Linked DNA regions of Homo sapiens: regions 2 and 3 are each linked to region 1. Evidence: promoter capture Hi-C in 16 types of primary human blood cells and fetal thymus (Javierre and others, 2016). All regions are on one chromosome and are shown on one strand. Each heading gives the region's core, a stretch centred on a gene start or on the middle of the fragment in contact. The rest is flanking DNA. Distances are from core to core; before and after follow the strand shown. Region 1 holds the start of DOCK11 (dedicator of cytokinesis 11). Region 2 overlaps PGRMC1 (progesterone receptor membrane component 1). Region 3 has its middle 46 kb from the start of LONRF3.

Region 1 (4,316 bases), core at 1,311-3,810:
TCACAATACTCTGCAGAAATTGCTTACTTCTCCTACTCTATCTTGTACCACTCTTCTTCCTTCTACGCTCCAGCCACACTGGCCTTTTTTTGGTCTTTGAACACACTAAGTCTGCCCCCATCTCTAGGCCTTCGTTCCTGGCATTTCTGTCGCCTGGAATGGTCTACCTGCTGATCTCTGCTGACTGCTTCTTTAAGACTCAGCTCAGTGTTTACCTCCTCAAAGAAGCTTTTCTTGATCATCTATTTTAAACTAGGTCCCCAACTCCAGTTACTCTCTATCAACTCCCCTTAATTCTCTACATAGCATTTATGTTTCTGAAATTAACATGTTCATTTCTTTGCACTGACATGTGAGCTCCAGGAGAGGAGGGACCTTGCCTGTCTTGTTCAATGCTGTGCACCTTCAGTGGCTACCATAGAGCCTGTGGTACTAAGAATGCTTTTGGCTGAAAGTAACAGAATATTCATCTAAACGTGTCATAAACTGCAGGGGTTTATTTTTCTTACATAAAAAGGAACTAGAGGTAGGCAGTATCAGGCCTGGTTCAACAGTTCAATGCTGTCTGGATTCTACATTGGCTTCTCTGAGATTGCCTTGGCCTTGCCTCATGGTTGCAATATGGCTGCCAAGGGCCAAAGCATTGCAAGAAAACATCCCTCTCAGGAAGAAAGTGGGGCCTGGGCCTCTCTCCTTTTTTTTTCATCAAGGTAGAAAAACTTTCCCAGGAACCCTCCTCTCACACTTCCCTCTTATATCTTATTGGCCCAAACCGATTGGGAGTCTAGACCATCCCACTAGTCAATAAGAGGGAGCTTATCATGGTTTTTTCATCAGTCATGATTCATCACCTGGAGTTGGGCCTGCCTTCCTTAAACCCTGTGGCTCTGCCCTATATCTGAAGTAAATCTGGGCTCTCTTTGCAAGCAAAAAGTGTTATAGCTATTGTGGTGGTAACCAACAGCATGAGCCACACAGGCATTTATGGAACAGAGGGTATGAATTCTTGGAGATCAGCCTACACGCAACAATTAACAAATTTTACACGTACTGTGCAAAACTAAGATTTGTGACAGAATGTCTTTAGAGGACTTCCAGGTCCCAGGCCCTCTAGGAGCCTCCATATATGCTTTATTGAGACTGATGGGATGGCTGAAATAGGCTTACTGCGAAGAGACTTGGCCTTTTCTGGGTTCAAAGAAACCATCACCACGCATGCCCTTGTTTCCATAATAAAGTCCCCTAAAAGACTGTTTGGTCTTTGAGGGTGGGGAAAGTGCCCGATGGGTGGTGGTAGGACTGCTTTCAGAAGGGCTGCTCGGTCCCCCAGACTGAGGGCCATTTTCAAACTCTCAACAAATGAAATAACCAGATAGAAAACTGCCACCATCAGTGGAGCCTTTCACTCTGCACTTCAGGAGGTCTGACAGGGTCACTAGTACTTCAAGATTCCCGTCCCTATTTCTGTCTTAAGCATGTTCGTTTTATACCCTGTTATGAGATGTTCTTTGATTCTTGGAAAAACAATTTCTTGGAAGCTGAAAAGAGTAAGGAGATGAATAGGAAATGGAGAGGTGAGTGCAGGGCACTTGTAAAAGCTACTATAAGATTGGTAAGTCCACCAAACCCAGGGAGATGGCCTTCCTAATGCCCACCCCCACCCCACTCCTGGTGCAGTCAGTGCTGACCTAGGGATCACCTGCCACAGGCTCATCCTAATGCCCACCCCCACCCCACTCCTGGTGCAGTCAGTGCTGACCTAGGGATCACCTGCCACAGGCTCAGGCTCCACCACCCAGCTCTCCCCCGTGGGGGACGGAGCGAGGGGTGCCGCCACAATAAGTTCCCACTTCCAGAAGCATGCTCTCTCCCCAGTGTTGCCCCCTGTTAGGTGAGCCAACTGAGTAGGAAAACGGTGTGGGCGAGGAGGGGGACCCAGTCGAGCCGCTCACGCTGGAAAGCAGCTCTCTGTCCTTCGACATTGGTGCGACCCTTCCCCAAGGAGCACACAAAAGGCGGCTGCTCCACGTTGTTTTCCAGCCCCTAGCCGCCTGGGCCCTGGGGGCTTGCGGGGTGGAGGGACGTGAGAGTTCTCCAGCCCTCCTGCGGGCACTGCAGCTCGGAGGCGGGAGAGGAGCACTAGGGCGGGAGAGGAGCACGCCCCACTCTTGGAGACATTTCATCACCCCTCTCTGTTCCCCCACCCCACCCCGCCCTCCCCACTCAAGCGGAAAAAAAGAAGCAGCCCAGATCTCCCCTCCCGGATGCGGCTGCACCAGCAACATCAGCTGCGGGCGGAGCCCGAGCGGTAGCCACTTCCCCCCTCTTCCCTCGTGACCCTCGCCCCCACCTCCAGTTCTCCCTCCCCCTCTACACACCCTTCCCCATCAGACACACCCTCCTGCTTCGGCTGGTGGCGATCGGAGCTCGGGCCCTCTAGGGGAGGGAGCTGCCGCCGCCGACGCCGTGGGGCAGGACAGTGAGCGGGCGAAGCGAGCGAGAAAAGGAGGGAAGGAGGGAACGAGGGAGGAGCAGCGGGTGGGAGGTGGGAGGGAGGAGCAGCGTGAGCCGCGCCGCCGCCGAGCTGCGATGTGGCCGGCCGGCCGGCGAGTAAACAGAGGGAGCAGCAGCGGCCGCGGCCGCCGCGGGCCGGGGCAGTGAGTCCACCCGCCCGCCGAGGTCCGCCCGCCCGCCGAGACCCGCCCGCCGCCGCTGCCATGGCCGAAGTGCGCAAATTCACCAAACGGCTCAGCAAGCCTGGCACGGCGGCTGAGCTCCGGCAGAGCGTGTCTGAGGCCGTGCGGGGCTCCGTGGTGCTGGTGAGTGGCCGGGGGACGGGGCATCCCGGGGGACGCGCTCCAGGCGGGAGCGACGCGGGAAGGGGCAGGAACGGCGCCAGTGCGGCCGCTTGGTGCGCCGCGCGCTGTCTTTCTCCGCTCCAGTAAGTTTTCGCACCGGCAGCCGCCGGCCGGGGTCCGAGTCCCAGGCGCCGGCTGACAGCTCTCCGGCCGCCCGGCACGGCGGAGGCGTGCGCCGGGATGGAAGCAGACGGGCAAAAGCCGGGCTCGGACGGCTGCGGAGGAGGCGGAGGCGGAGGCTCCCACCCAGGGTCGGGGCCGGGGGTGTGAGCTAAAGAGCTGACCTCGCGCTGCTCTGGACTCGGCACAAAGAGCCGGGGACAAGGGCACGACGAGATCCTGATCCCCTCCCGCGAGCACCTGAGGCCGCCTAGGCGGAAGGATGCGATGAGCGTTTGGCACACACACTCTCGCGCGCACACATACACACACTGTGTACACAAAAAAGAACCCCACCCAGAAAGCCCCGGGCGCCCAAGCTCGGGCTGGCGGTGAGAACAGAGGAAGCAGAGCGACTTCCTCCTGCAACTGGGGAGAGAGGGTGGTGATGGGTGTTGAAGGGGTGCTGCTGCGGAGGAAGGGCATTAGAAACAACGGGGTTCTGCGACAGAGTGGGCGCAGGGTCATCCACCGCAGGGAGAGTGTGTCCCTCGGGGACACGCGAGCGCTCCAGAGGCAAGGGGACCAAGGGGACGGTGCCGTGGGGATTTGGGGGAAGACTGGGTGTGTCAGTCCAGGGATGGAGGACCTGGGGTCAGAGCCCCACAGCTCAGGACTGGGGGATGGGGATTCGAAAGCGCGCTGACTCCCTGGGAACCCTCCCAGAGCACCCTCAGCCTTATCCAGATTGTCTGACTCTGGAGAAAGGCTAAAGGGTGCTAACGGGCACTTGCCCCTTCTCTTGTTTTCAAGACACTCGTTGCCAGTTTCCTGGACAAGCGAACAAACCCTGAATAAGCAATCGGACTGATTAATTAGTGTTTGTTTTGTTACTTTGTTTTTTGGTTGTTGTTTTTGTTTGTTTTTGTCTCCCTCAGCTCCATTTTACAGCGAGTCGTTTGCTGTGTTTAAATTTCACCGTTTAAGAGAGGGCTCTTTTTGTTAAAACAACTTGTCATCGGAAGGGAACTTCACAGCTTTTCCTTGTAATTTTTCTGTTGATCTTGTAGAATCAGCAATAAAACCCAGCATTAAAGGGAGGCCAGGGGCTTGATCCCAACAGTGGAGAAAGTTGACATTAGTGGGAGTTCTGGAGGAGGATCAAAGGTAAACTATGTACCTTTGAGATAAAGATCTGATCCCTAATAGCTACAACTGTGCAAACCTAAGTGACTTTAAAGAAATCTCTTTATTGTGGCTAGACCCTTGAAAGTTTAATTCTGCTGTTTAGTGGAGCTAAATCCAGACCTTTAATGTTACTTTAATGGACTTGGCTTGTGTATTTCAGTCTGATTTTGG
Region 2 (4,316 bases), core at 1,069-3,568, 740 kb after region 1:
ACATACATTATTTGTCACTTAGAGTAGCACACATAGTTGCTTTATCAATAAACATAATCATGTAAATACCTGTTAATATTGAGCTCAATATTAAAGGAGTGAAAACATGTGCATGAGGCATCATCATGACTGTAGTTTGCAGAGTCATTGAGAGGATGTCAGCCTGTGCACAGAGCACAAAACTGGGAGTCAGGCAACCTGCGTTCTAGTCCTGATTGGGTCATGACTAGCTGTGTGACCTTGTGCAAAGCATTGTTCTCTCAGAGCCTTAGTTTTCCCTCTGAAAAGTGATAAAGATGGCCTATTGTGAGATCTCTGTCTCTATCTTGCACTGTCATTCAGTGAGCCCATGACTACGTGACATCTTGGTAGAAAGTGATGCTTCATGTTGTAAAGGATTCCTAAAAATTAGTCATTCTAGTGCCTGTTAATTCTGTGCAAGGCACTGTTGTAGATGTGGGAATATAGCAGTGAGCAAAACAGACACAAATCTCTGCCTATGGAGCTTACGTTCTAGTGAATATATGTTGCACTGAATAATATGTATTTTTAAAAGACTTTTAATGTTCCCACTAGAGAACATTTAATTGTTTAAATGTTTAAATATTCTATGAGGTTTAAATATTCTATGTTTAAATATTCTATGAGGTTTGCTTGGTAAAGACTCACTCTACCAAGCCAATGACCATAATTTCTGAAATGGTAAGGTTCAAACCATTGCATTTGCCTATTCTCAAGCACTAGGTGCTGCCATTTCCACTAGGGGTGTACATTTATGAAAAATGTGGGCTTTTTTTTACCTTCTTTAGTGAATGTGGCAGCATGTAATGATGATTAAAAATAAGCATTTTTCTTTGGAATTTTACTTGCATTTAAAAGTTGTAAAATTTGTAAAAAATTTCTGAGTGTATTGAGGTTTCAGGTGAACAGGCCATATTGAAACTTGATCTATTCTCATACTTGGTTCCCTACAAACATTTTAATGTCAGGGCTGCTATTCAATCTGCCTTGGGGGAAACAACACATTGTTTAAAGTACACTGGATTCTCTTCATTTAGTTGTGCAATATTTAAATAAGTCTAAATATCCACTTTGTGTACCCACAGAATGATTCTCTGCTCTCTTAGACAAAAGTTCAGTATAATATCACAAATAATCACATTTTATAGAGTTGTTTTATAGAGTTGTTTTGCAGTATTGATTCAGCCTCTTTTCCATGAAAATTTTAGTATTTTCACAGTCTTCTCAAGCCCACCAAAAAACAGATAATGAAGACTGATCTCTGTGTTATCTATTTATTGACAGTGAAGGTTATGTAATGTGGATAGATTTTTAAACCACCGATACTGTTATAAAATGGTTCTTCTGCAGATGCCATGAGTTAATGTTTAATTGAGCCTTGGAACCAAAGATCTCTATAAGATACCTTTGTTTCATTAAAACATATCAGAATATATTCATAAGGAAATGTGTTTTCATGTACACATCAGTGCTTATTATCTTAAGAAACCATAACTCTCACTGGTGTAGCCCCAAGTGCCTAGAACTGTCAGGCTCCCAGTTCAATGTTCTTGTATGATTCCCTACTACCACTACCCCAAGAGATCACTAACCACGTATGACTTTTTTACTAGCTATTTGGAAACCACAGGAGACTGACGCAAATGTATAGCAGTTTGATTTACTTTTAGTTATTTAAAAGTTAAATGACAACAGGTCTTTCTGTGTCTCCTACATAATGTTCAGAATATCAGCATTACTATGGTTTCCTAATGGAATTTGATATTCAAAAATGGGGCTATGTTGATGAATAGGGAAGCCATTTTCTGTGTATAAATCACAGAGAAATTGACTGTCTAATAAAGAATTGATCTTTGGTTTTGTTTTTGAAGAGGGGCCGTATGGGGTCTTTGCTGGAAGAGATGCATCCAGGGGCCTTGCCACATTTTGCCTGGATAAGGAAGCACTGAAGGATGAGTACGATGACCTTTCTGACCTCACTGCTGCCCAGCAGGAGACTCTGAGTGACTGGGAGTCTCAGTTCACTTGTAAGCATTTTTAAAATTGTGTCTGGGTCAAATTTCTACCAGTAATGGGGATTCGTGGCAGGACAATAGTTATTACTAAGCAGCCTGAAACTTGGGTGCATTTTGATAGGCTCCTTAATCTTGGACGCATCAAGTTCATGGCTTGAAGTAATTGTAGCAGTGCTGAGTCACTTGCTATGATTGCATACCAATTTTTAGCCAGTTCTCTATGGAAACTTGGGTTTCTGGTTTTGATTTTAAAATTTTTGAGAGATTTGCTAGATTCCAAATGAGGATTTGGTGCTTGGTGTGTCAGGGAAAGGACAGTGTCCATCTTGGCTACAGAAAGGGATTTTCATAAGCCCTCTCTTGTAGAGCTTGCCGTTTAAAAGCAGCCCACATCTCTGTTGAAGAATGGGAGACTTGTATTCTGTGAAACAGCTTCTCTTTGAATCTAATTGAACCTAACTATAGGCCTCATCTACAAATGATGCTTATAATGTGCCCAGCAGCAATGGTGTCTGCATTTTTAAAAAGAAAGTAAAAAGGAGATGCTTGTTTCTGGCTTATGCTATGGGCTGAGGTCTTTGGGGAGAAATAGGAATGAGGGGTTAAGTTCAGATTTTGAGAATTCAGGAATTGGTTTCTGTCAAATCTAACTGTTTAATTGTCACTCTAGCAATATTTCACTGCCAAGAATTTGAATAAGAGTCTTTCCCAGCTTTTATGAAACAGTATATAAAGACCATGAGCATTATTTGAAGATTTTTCATTTAAAATGTAGTTTTCTATGTGTGTTCTCTATAATCAGTTAAATATTACATGTTCTCTTGGCTATATCCAACCATTTTCTTTGAAAATAATGCTGACTTCAGAGAGAGTTCTGGATTAATAATTAGCCAGATGTGTCTCTGCCTTTGAGTTTTGGTCTCAAGCAGGCTACATATAACTTCCAAGTCTAGAGGCAAGTTTTTATACTTTGGAAAACATAGTTCAGTTACCTAATAGAGTCCCTAATTTTTGGCATCATAAGGATGCCTTTGTAATTAGTTTTCTATATGAAACCAGTGAATTGTAGTGTCTAACTTACAAAGCTCTATTTTCTAGGGCTTGCCTTCATCAGTGGGAGAAAAAGTGTGATTTTTTTTTTCCACTTTAAGGCTAGCCCCAGATGCTGTTGTGACACCTCAGCTACACTTAAAGTTGGTGTGGATTCCCCTTAAGGCAGGTTTCCCAGGAGCCACCTGGCTTTTATTTGTCTCACACAGTTCCAATTGTTCCCAACGGTTATTTCACACAAAAGCAGCTTTAGTTACCTGGTTAGACAGGTTGGTTACTCCTCTAATTCCTACTCATATTCAGGAAGAGGAGACTCTTGGCTTTGGACATTCAGATGATCGACCCTGCATTAGTTTGGCTACAGTGATGAGGTGGTTTGCTGATGCCATCTCTTCTCAAGTCTTTTGCATTCTGGTTTGCACCCTTACATCTGTTTTCTCCAACACCTCCAGTCATCTCCTGGCTCCTTTACCACTTCCTTTAACCACCCATAGGTTTTTCTCTGTGCTGGGAAAAACGTTCTGTCTCTTGCTCTCCTCTTCATCTATGAGACTATTATTCCTTCCTTTCACTGTCAAACAAACTTCTTACAAGTTTTTATTCCTAACCACTACTTCATTTCCTCTCTATACCTTCTTCCTCCCTACAATATGGCTTCTATCCCCACAATTGGATTGAACTCTCTTTCTGAAAGATTTTCAGGGAAACCTTTTTTTTTTTTCTTGCCAATCCTGACTTCACTTGTCCATTCCATGTTTTAGATCTCCTGTCATGTGAGCCTCCAGAATGGCTCCCTCCACAGAGTTCCCATTTTGGTCCATGGGAGCTCCAATTTTCACTTAATTAATTCATGCTTCCAGTTTTCTTTCAAAGTACTTCTCATCTGTCCCTTTCCATTCCCCTGGACACCACCCTGCTCCTGGCGCTGGTTCCTTTGCATCTGGATCTGCACTCTGCCTCTGGATCGCCCTGTTCCCAGTCTCTCCTTACTGAAATCTGCCCTATACACCACATTGATAATATCGTTGTTAAAGCACTATTTTACTGTGTCATTCCTTCGCTTATAAACCTTCAGTGCCCTTTGCCACCTATAAGTCCAAACTCAGGCTGGCTTTTCAGATCTTTCATAATATTTCCCCACACTACTTAGCCAATCTTATCTCCTACTAACTTCTAAATGTTAACTCTACTCCTGCCAACTTGGTCTCTTCATTGCTTCCCAGATACGTT
Region 3 (4,316 bases), core at 875-3,374, 520 kb after region 1:
GATGCTTAAAAGAAGTTCAGAATGATGCTAAGATCATCTGTCTTCAGAGTCCACTTTTTTTTTTCAGTTTGAACTAAACAATATAAAATACTTAAGGGATTTGGCCTAGATTATGGTATATGCCAAGGTAAAGTAAAATAATTCATTTTCTGTGTGTAATACAGAACAAAGCTGAAAGAATTATTTTTATTATAGGCATTTACTTCAGCAATCTAATTGTACGTGTATCTAATTTTTCCCCAGTGCAGTTAGGAATCGGATTTTGGGCAGGATCATAATTAACTCTTCAGAGGAAATGGTGTTCAGTTTAGCACATCACAGTCATGCCCAACTAGCCTCCATAACCCACCTCTCCCCGGGGTTCTGAGGATCAAGACCTGGACAGAAACACTTGATAAGGACTTTTTATTATTAAAATGTAAATAAGACAAATAGAGTAGAACCCTATAAAAATCTTTTTAAAGGAACCAGATGGCCGGGCACGGTGGCTCACGCCTGTAATCCCAGCACTTTGGGAGGCCGAGGCAGGCGGATCACTTGAGGTCAGGAGTTCGAGAGCAGCCTAACTAACATGATGAAACCCTGTCTCTACTAAAAATGGATACAAAATTAGCCAGGCTTGGTGGTGTATGCCTGTAATCCCAGCTACTTGGGAGGCTGAGGCAGGAGAATCACATGAACCTGGGAGATGGAGGTTGCAGTGAGCCGAGATTGCACCACTGCACTCCAGCCTGGGCAACGAGCAAACCTGCGTCTCAAAAAAAAAAAAAAAAAAAAAAAAAGGGAACCAGATAATCTATTATTTTACCTAAGTACTGCCTTTGCTTCTAGTTGCATGGGTGAAATATTTCAATGTATGGGGAGAATATAGGGTGAGGAGTAAGAGTAAGCCCTGATTTAGCTTGCTTAGTGCTAGTTTGAGTCCTTCAGTGGCAGGACAGCCTGTAAAGTACCACAAGTATGGGAGTGTTATAATGGCAGAGTGAAACGATTAGAGCAGGGAGGAAGTGAATTGTGCCATTAGTACCTTCATGCAAATTATACCATGTGATTTTGGACAGTGAATGATTTTTGCATCATTCATTCACAGCCCATCACTCTGTTAAGGTGAGAGTGTAATTCTTACTTCTCCCATCACCACCTGTAGCTAGAAACAGGAAAGGGAGAATGAGATGATCCAGACAACATAAAAAAGATGCATGTAAGCAGAAACCAGATGGTCTTTTCTGCACTCACTTAATGGACATTATGTTGCCAGAGTGTTGTGTTTATCAGATTTGATGTTTGGAGCTAGTCTGGGCAGGTGAAGAACAGAAATAGGCGGAAGTATAGGCATTATTTCTGCGCAAGCAAACTCCACAAAGCTCAGGGAGCAGAAAAGACTCCCCCTCCCACCTGGTTCCCAGACCATGTGGTCATAACACAATCCTAATAGTTTCTGGTTATCTAGTGTAAATGCAACAAAGAAAAAGGCCCTAAGCTTCTCTACTTATTAGATATATTATTTTTGGCAATTGATTTAACTTTTGCCAACCCTCAGTTTTCTAATCTATGAAATGATAGTGATAAGTTCTGCATATAGGGTTGTTACGAAAATTAAATGAGATAATGTGTAAATCAATTAGCACAGTGTCTCACACCTAGAATGCACTCAAGAAATAATAGCTACTATTAGATTAGTCATAGTTATAGAATATCATCAAGGGCCTACATTTGTATAAAACACTGCCTTTACACACAATATCCACTTGAAACCCCTTTAAACTTAGTTGGGGGAATACATACCACTGATTTTTGGACCCATAATTTGATGATTTACAGATAATTCTTTTGGGAATTAAATGTGTGTGAAAGTGAAATAACTGGAGAACAAATGAGGGTCAGAGATAGGGATCAATCCTATACCAGAAATTTTTTTCCTGCTTCAATAAGGGCTAGAAGGTAGTGCCCTATGTAGGTCTAGGATTTCTTTCTTCCTTCCTTCCTTCCTTTCTTTTTCTTTTGTTCCCTCCCTCCCTCCCTCTCTCTCTCTTTCCCTCCCTTCCTTCCTTCCTTTCTTTTTCCTTTCCTTTCCTTTCCTTTCTTTCTTTTGTGTGTGTGTGTGTGTGTGCGAGTCTGAGTCTCACTCTGTCACCCAGGCTGGAGTGCAGTGGCTCGATCTCAGTTCACTGCAACCTCCGCCTCCCAGGTTCAAGTGATTCCCTTGTCTCAGCCCCCCAAGTAGCTGGGATTACAGGCACGCACCACCACGCCTGGCTAATTTTTGTAGTTTTAGTAGAGATGGGGTTTCACCATGTTGGTCAAGCTAGTCTCGAACTCCTGACCTCAGGTGATCCATCTGCCTGGGCCTCCCAAAGTGCTGGGATTACGGGCGTGGGTGTGAGCCACCGCACCCAGCCTAGGATTTCTGATAGAATGGAAGCCTTAAGTTCTAGCTCCATTAGAATAACCAACTTTTCACTCCCTGTTCTCCAAAATGTATTGAGAACCTTACCCATCCCAGATGATGAGAGTTTACAATCTGTGACTTCTGTTCTTAGTTGATAGTATTTCTTTATGTTGCCCAAAGTAACAGATTCAACAAAAAATGTACTGAGATCCCCATGTACCAGGTACTGAGCCAAGTGATCTCACATACCTGAGCTCATTACATCATTTATTTCTCATACCAACCCTGCGAGAGCAGTTATTATCCCCATATTATGAATGAGAAAACTGAGCCTCCACTATGTTAAATATTTTGTCTAGTTGCAAGGCAGGATGCAAGGCTAAGCTTTGGCTTTCTTTGGGATGTACCTTAACGAGGTAATCAATTGGTCTTGAACATTTTTACACTGGGAAATTGGTTTTGCTGCACAGCTTGGGAATGAAGGGTATACAGAAGAAAGACATAAGGCTAAATCTAGGCCAGAAAAATAAGACTTCCCCCACAGTAGATAGTGCCACTTATTTAGTTAGTTTTTCTGTCTATCATGACTGACCCAGTCTTTGCCTAGTAGGTTATATTTTGTATGTATGTATGTATGTATGTATGTCTTTGTGTGTGTATGTGTGTGTGTGTATGTGTGTGTGTATATATATATATATATATATATATATATATATATATATATACACTAGGTAGCAAGCAGACATCATATCTTTCTGCTTTGTACTGTACTACTGCTGCTAGCAAATAACCAGCAAAATGTAGAAAATGAAAAACCAATTTTCTGTAGACAACCTGGAGAAAAGAGTGCCTGCCCCTGACTTAGCGGGGCAGAGAATGACAATTTTTAAAGTTTGCCTTTTCTGAAGGTTGCTTTTAGCCCAGTGCTGCCTCAGCAGCAAGGGGCAAGCAGAGTCATTGCGCATGTGGCGCTTCCAGCTCTACCTGTGGAGCTGGCCTGGGCTCAGATAATCCCCTGTGACTGGCCATTGGAGCGGCGGAGCTCCTGAGGCTAGTTCACAGCACCCAGAGGTCTCTTACAGTCAACAGATTGCATACTGTTGACAGACTGCAATCCGTCTGTGTTCCCCACACCAACTCCATTTCCAAGATGGGAATTTTATTCAGGAACTCATTTTTGAGTTCCCAACATGTTGACTTCGCATCCATTTCTGCTCACCAAGGCAGAACCATAGCAGTGGTGTGTGACAAAGATGCAAATGGAGGGCAGCCCAAACAATGGAAAAGAGAAGATTTTCAGCCCATTCTTGGGGCTAAGTGAGGTTTTGATTTATGGTAGAAGACAGTTCTAAAAAGCAGCTGGCAGCATGGGCTTCAATTTGTGGCCCTTCTGAGTTCAAACAGAAGGAAGGAAAAGGAGCCACATAAAGTGTACACATTCAATTCATCTTAGAATGATAGCTCCCACCTTATTACACTGTACAACTATTTAATAATCTGGGTTACACACATCCAGAGGTGAAATAAAGAAATTTTCACTTACAAATGTGTATTTCCAAACATGCTAAGTTAACCTCCAGAGAGAAGTGCCTGTAATCTCTGTTCCTGGTGTCACTTTAAAGCTTTTGCTTCATGACTGTAGCTGTTGTTTAAAATGTTTTTGCAGCAAACGCGATTTAACAGAAGTTTACAAAGCAACACTGTAGCTAATGCATAATTTTAAAAGTTGACTAACATTTATCTATTGTTAAAGCAACACTAATAATGGAATAAAAGGAAAGCAAATAGGCCAATGTGGCACCATAGGCTTATTTTAGGTAAATTAGTTCCATCATCTTATGCAGTTGTAAGTAATGCCAGGATTAAAATATCAAGCAAGCCACGTAAACAGTGGCAAATGTGTGTGTGTTTTCCATTTGTTTGGTAA

The links. The method cuts DNA at HindIII sites, captures the fragments that hold promoters and counts their contacts. A CHiCAGO score of 5 or more calls a contact.
Region 2: a contact is called between a fragment that was not itself captured here and the fragment with the promoter of DOCK11 in region 1, in 1 of 17 cell types (activated CD4 T cells). The highest score is 5.6, in activated CD4 T cells.
Region 3: a fragment that was not itself captured here is called in contact with the fragment with the promoter of DOCK11 in region 1 in 1 of 17 cell types (monocytes); the score reaches 7.0 in monocytes.

What each region holds. Positions count from the first base shown.
Region 1 is chrX:118,493,255-118,497,570 of GRCh38, forward strand. DOCK11 (dedicator of cytokinesis 11) reads left to right here and starts at 2,561. Exons shown (of 53, transcript NM_144658.4): 1 at 2,561-2,819. The coding sequence starts at 2,718. RefSeq lists enhancers at 1,899-1,968, 2,371-3,349 and silencers at 2,379-2,518, 2,629-2,708, 2,799-2,858, 3,029-3,088. The HindIII fragment of the contact is 5,195 bases long and covers 227-4,316 here.
Region 2 is chrX:119,238,417-119,242,732 of GRCh38, forward strand. It overlaps PGRMC1 (progesterone receptor membrane component 1), which reads left to right. Exons shown (of 3, transcript NM_006667.5): 2 at 1,893-2,048. Among named protein-coding and RNA genes, the nearest start is that of PGRMC1, 4.3 kb to the left of the region's middle. The HindIII fragment of the contact is 6,368 bases long and covers 1-4,316 here.
Region 3 is chrX:119,018,380-119,022,695 of GRCh38, forward strand. No RefSeq gene overlaps it. Among named protein-coding and RNA genes, the nearest start is that of LONRF3, 46 kb to the left of the region's middle. The HindIII fragment of the contact is 1,293 bases long and covers 1,479-2,771 here.